Linked DNA regions of Homo sapiens: region 2 is linked to region 1. The links are contacts of gene promoters, found by promoter capture Hi-C in blood cells and fetal thymus (Javierre and others, 2016). All regions are on one chromosome and are shown on one strand. Each heading gives the region's core, a stretch centred on a gene start or on the middle of the fragment in contact. The rest is flanking DNA. Distances are from core to core; before and after follow the strand shown. Region 1 holds the start of TRMT5 (tRNA methyltransferase 5). Region 2 overlaps LRRC9 (leucine rich repeat containing 9).

Region 1 (2,866 bases), core at 108-2,607:
AATGAAAGATTATGGAAAAAAGCTGCAAACCACCAGGGTTTGTATGACACACTCGTTGCTTAACCAACACTAATTTCCTTTCCTTTCCTTCCCACCTCCCACTACTGCAGCTCCAGGAATCTAGGGTTTCTTAGGAAAATGATTTCCACCAGTACACAAGACAGGCAGAGTTCAGGAAGGGCCATGACTAACCTTGTGACTGCAAGAGATGAAGATAGGATGGGAATGGAGTGGGGAGAGAGAGGAGGGATAAGGCCTCAGCTCATGTGATTACTAAAGAATTGCTGAGTCAACCTGGGACTGCTGTGGGCAGTTGTTTCTCCTCAATTACTAGGACTGCACAACTAATCTCTACTTATATATCTAATGAATTAGTTCTACCAAACTGGAAGGATGGTCAGGAATATCTTGCAATGACAATATTATAAACAGAAGCAATTCACGTTGTTCTGGCAGTATCCCTGAAAACATCCCCCTCCCCACAAACAGCACCGGGAACAAAGTCCTGGGAACAGTGTCTAGGACTCGAGTTAAAAAGCGGAGTGCCCACTGCACAGGCTTTAGGGTCAGGAACGTGCTATGCACTTACTACCAAGCCACTTCCATTCTACCGCTAAGAATTTCTGTATTAAAATGTTTATTATTTTCCCTCCCCCCATGACTAAGTCGGAAGAGGAAAATCCTGTGACTCTTGCAAAGACCTCACGAGACTGGTGGAGAAAATAAGGTGACAAAAATACTAACTAACAGCAGTGAGTACATAATCCTAGGGCCGCTCATCCCATCATGTTCGCAGCTTCCACTCAACGCTGCATCTCTTCCACCCGACGCTTTTCATCTTTTCTTTCTAGAGTATGCTAGGCTGCTATCACGTTCATAACTGCGCCAATCTCATCTGAATCTCGGCGGCTGCCTTCAGACCCCATCCCCCAGGGTTCAGGCTCCAGCATCTCCCCTGTCCCGGTGCGGTCCTCCTTTTCTGGGTCTTATTTGGCAGGCACTTGAGGGAAGCCGGAGGGCGTCAGCGCGGGGAAGCGAACACAGCCCACTTACGTTGCTTAGCAACGGACTCAACTCTTCGGCCTCCGCTTCTTCAGGCTGCTGGACAGAGACATACCAGCCCCGCTCAGCGTTGAAGCTCCCCCAGGACGCCTCCATGCTGCTCTCCAGCTGACTACCAGTTCCATCTACGAGCCTCTACCCCTGCCCTGCGCTCCAGTCGTCGGTCGCGCCAGAGGCGGAGCTTTGAGCCCGGCCCTTCCGGCATTCCGTACTTCACCAGGGCCTGGAAGGAGAGGAGCGAGTCGACTTGATCTGATGACGCGCGCCCTCTTCGCGGCGAACAGTGATGATGTCATAGAAGACCCGCCCATCCACCCGCGACCCACATCCGATCGGTACCGGAGCGGGAGGTGAGGGGTCGGCTCGCGGATCCAGCTGCAGAGCGACGTGGGGAATTGGAATGGTGCTTTGGTGAGGTGGCGGCCGCGTTAGGGGCTAATGGTCCAGGGGAGGTACCAGCCCGCCCAGGGCTGCTCTCTGCCATGTGCTGCCTGGGCACAGAAACATCGCGAGGTCACCCACCCGCCTAGGTGCTGAGCTTAGTTTCGAGGTTCTGGATAGTAAGGAATGTTTCAAAAGCCTTTCGCCACATTTTACTGGTGGGAAAACCGAGACTTATAGTAATTTATCCAGGGTCACCCAGCTGGTCAGCTGCTAGAACCAATTTGATCTCTGACGGTGAAGTTAGACTTCGTTGCTTTACAGGATTCTGGGACAGGGCCCTTTCCCCTTACAAGTAAATTCTTTGGTATTTTAGAAGACAGTGAATAACTGATACTATGCATATAACAATCAGCAAAGCTCTCGTCCTCAAAATACAGAAGCCTCTAGTTAAAGGCAGGACATGTGGCAGTAAAGCATCGAAAACAAACAACAGAGCAATATATTAAGAACACAAGCACCGAAGTCAGTCAAAACTAGGTTTTAATCCATGTTTAGCCACTTATCAGCTGGGAGACTTTGGGTGGGTTACCTTACGTCTGAGCTTTAGTTTACTTATTTACAAAATGAGGGTGCAATACTGCACACCTCCCAAGATTCATAATGTACATAAAGCATTTAGCGCAGTATCTGACACAATAAGCACCCATGAGACTATCCTAATAAATATCACCACTAGTAATGGTCATGTATAATGACTATTTCATTTACAGATGACCATTTAACTCATACTTCAGTCTTCCAATCCCAAATGTATTATCTAGAAAATTGTGGGTGAAGAGGATCATTGAGTATGGCTAATGGATCACTAAGCCCTCTGAACTGGGAGCAGATGGGTTGAAGGTGTAAATTTAATATATACCACTATTATCTACCACTAATACGACTTCCTGAAGAAGTCATCCTAGTCTGGAAAAGATAGTATACTTCCCACACATCACTAAACGTTTTATTTGTCAGCATTTAGCCCGTTATTTGAGATAGTAGAATTTAGATTTTTATTCTCAAAAGCTGTCGTGTGTGAATTTTTTTTTTTTTTTTTTAAGGATCTTATGGAGGCCATTTGGATTCTCAGGAAGATTTCTGAAACTGGAAAGCCATAGCATAACTGAATCAAAATCGTTGATTCCAGTAGCTTGGACATCCCTGACACAGATGCTTTTGGAAGCACCTGGTATTTTCTTATTGGGTCAAAGAAAAAGATTCTCAACCATGCCAGAAACAGAAACACATGAGAGAGAGACTGAATTGTTTTCACCACCTTCTGATGTCCGAGGCATGACAAAACTTGATAGAACAGCTTTTAAAAAGACAGTCAACATTCCAGTGCTTAAAGTGAGGAAAGAAATAGTCAGTAAATTGA
Region 2 (2,866 bases), core at 263-2,762, 1.0 Mb after region 1:
GGAGGTCTGAGAAAGATTAGTTGGATACTTGGGGCATCAGAAGTGACCAATGATAAAGCAAGATCAGCAGCAAGATGGAGATAGTGAAGTAGAGAATAAAGAAATGGTAGCAGTAAAAGGAAAGCAATAGCTAGAAAGTACAGTGGAGTTAAGTGACTGAATTGCTTCAAGGTGAAGACTGGAGAGTTTACAAAAGATTAAAGATTTATAACCAATTTAAAAAGCAGATTTCAAAACCATCAACAAAAGGAACACAACATAAAAATAAGATGCCTAGAAGGATTACGTAGGGTCAGGCAGTAGTAATTAATGGGCTTACTTTGGTATAATCCAAAGAGGAAAGATGCTATACTTTCCATGATAACACTAAGCTTTTTGTGAAACAGCAGTAGAAATTTACTATAAATATGGATAAAAGGATTGGGAAATCATGCTTAACCAGCGGCAGAGCTCCACTTGCTAGGAAGAAAGCATTATTCTAAATGACATTTTATGCTACCTTGCTTGTTTCACTGTCTTTGAATCCTTTTTCAAGTATTTGTAGAAGATGCTTTTTCTTCACTGAAACTTCAGGATCAAAAACATAAAAAAGGCATTCCAGCATCCTTCGGTAGCTCCTTAAGAATAATTGAAACAGAAAAAGTTTGAGGATTGATTTCACAAAAGCTTAGCCATAGATAAGATAACCATATGTCCTGCCAGGGATATTTGTCATTGACATGCAATGTTCTAGTGTCATTATTAATAGCTCCCCTGCCTTCAACCTCAAAAACAGGCTCAATGTGGATAAATTATGAGGTCATCCTGGCCATGGGAGATGCATAAAAAGGAAACATTTACTAACAAGGTATATGTATATTTTTAATGCTGTAAACTTTTAAAATAGAAATTTTACAAATACAGTCACACTTTTGTAAAGTTGTTCCATAAAGAATTCAGCTTCTTACTCTGAATCATGCATATCTTCATTCTCCAAAAACTTTTGAAATTTCTCTTCGAATTTTAGTCTCAGAATACGGTTGTTAACTTTAATGATGCGTTTTACTTTTACTCCTGTAATACCGTATGTTCTGAAGTCCCAGGCACAAAAACGTGACAGAATTAATTCATAGCAGAAATTAAACCTATGTGGGAATACATACAGAATATACATGAAGAAAATAATAGATTTTCCTTAAAATGTTTAAGAACAGAAAACTACGTGATAAAAGTTATAGCTCATATTTTGTGTCTTTTGCTAAAGATACAGTAATCATATAGTGGCTCCGTTTATTTATTCATTTATTGCACATTTGTTCTGCCTGGAAGACAGGTTGGTTGAGCAATCTTCACTTTCTGAAACACTTTCTTAGCTTCAGGGAAACTTCATACGCCTTCCTCTTATTGGCTGCTCTTTCATAGTTTTCTTGCTGGGTCTTCTCAGACAGACTTTTAGATGTTGAACTGCCCAGGGATCAGCCTTTGGCCTTCCTCTTGCTTCCACGAACACTCTCCCTAGATGATTTCACGTGGTTCCTTGGCTTTATATACATCCTGATAAATTACAACATTTTATTTCTAGTCTTGATCTCTACTCAACTTAGCTGGTTATACCCAGACTTGAATATCCAACTACCTACTTGGTATGTCCATCTGCATGTTAAACAGGTGACTCCAACCTAACATAACTAACACTGCACCCCAAACCTGCTCCTCTGAGTATTTTCCATCTCAGTATATGGCACCACCATTTAACTGATAGCTTAAGTCAAAACCGTAGGAATAATCCTCTCCTTTCTTCCTCACCAGTATCTTTTTTTTTTTTTTTTTTTTTTTTTTTTTTTTTTTTTTGAGGCGGAGTCTCGCTCTGTCGCCCAGGCTAGAGTGCAGGGGCGCCATCTCCACTCACTGCAATCTCCGCCTCCCGGGTTCACGCCATTCTCCTGCCTCAGCTTCCCGAGTAGCTGGGACTACAGGCGCCCGCCATCACGCCCGGCTAATTTTTTGTGTTTTTAATACAGACGGGGTTTCACCGTGTTAGCCAGGATGGTCTCAATCTCCTGACCTCGTGATCCGCCCACCTCGGCCTCCCAGTGCTGGGATTACAGGCGTGAGCCACCGCGCCCGGCCCCAGTATCTAATTCTTTAGCAAGTCCGCCTGGCTCTACATCTAAAATCCATCCTGAATGTGATCGTGTTTCATCATCACCACTGTTACCATCCTAATCCAAATCACCACGATCTCTCATTGGACTACTGAAATAACTTCCTGACAATGAATACGGATGTGAAAGAGGCATTGTCTGCTCTAATGAAGCCTAAACAAGTAAAGCCAGAAATAAAATTTCTAAACTGAAAAAGGCTCTGAAGAGAAGCTTGGGGTAAGGAATGCAAAGGGGACCTACTTAAGATAGGGCCTTGGGGACGACCTTTCAGAGACGTTAAGATATTTGATCTGAAAATTGGAGGAGGAGGAGCAGGGGCCAGCTGTGTGAAAATAACACTGAAGTGCTTGTTTGCTCTCTGCTGCCCTCACCTGGCCATACGCATAAAATTCCGGTCCTGTCTAGCACAGAACCTAGATTAAGATGAGATTGAAAAACGGATCATTTTGAGAAGGAAGTAAATGGTCTTATAAGGAATACATTTGCCTTTAATGAAAGATCTAGGTCCTCACCTACATAATCAACCAGGGTCTGAAATGGGTGTGAGCTAAGGTCACAGAGGTGAGCTTCCTGATGGGTAGTCTCTCCTTGAGCCTAATAGCTGAGCTCCTAACTTAGGGCATCTATATTTCTCACAAGCAAATACTTAATCAATGCAGCCAGGATCTTATAAATTACTTCTCCCTTAGAGTTGAAAGGAGAGCTGCCTAAACCAAACTAAT

What was found. The method cuts DNA at HindIII sites, captures the fragments that hold promoters and counts their contacts. A CHiCAGO score of 5 or more calls a contact.
Region 2: a contact is called between a fragment that was not itself captured here and the fragment with the promoter of TRMT5 in region 1, in 1 of 17 cell types (total CD8 T cells). The highest score is 5.5, in total CD8 T cells.

What each region holds. Positions count from the first base shown.
Region 1 is chr14:60,979,570-60,982,435 of GRCh38, reverse strand. TRMT5 (tRNA methyltransferase 5) reads left to right here and starts at 1,357. Exons shown (of 5, transcript NM_020810.3): 1 at 1,357-1,473; 2 at 2,550-2,866. The coding sequence starts at 1,463. It overlaps SLC38A6 (solute carrier family 38 member 6), which reads right to left and starts at 1,191. Exons shown (of 16, transcript NM_153811.3): 1 at 1,054-1,191. The coding sequence starts at 1,158. RefSeq lists an enhancer at 1,088-1,467. The HindIII fragment of the contact is 5,504 bases long and covers 1-2,866 here.
Region 2 is chr14:59,964,847-59,967,712 of GRCh38, reverse strand. LRRC9 (leucine rich repeat containing 9) reads right to left here. Exons shown (of 33, transcript NM_001395648.1): 11 at 948-1,124; 12 at 500-617. Among named protein-coding and RNA genes, the nearest start is that of LRRC9, 46 kb to the right of the region's middle. RefSeq lists an enhancer at 2,367-2,426. The HindIII fragment of the contact is 1,688 bases long and covers 669-2,356 here.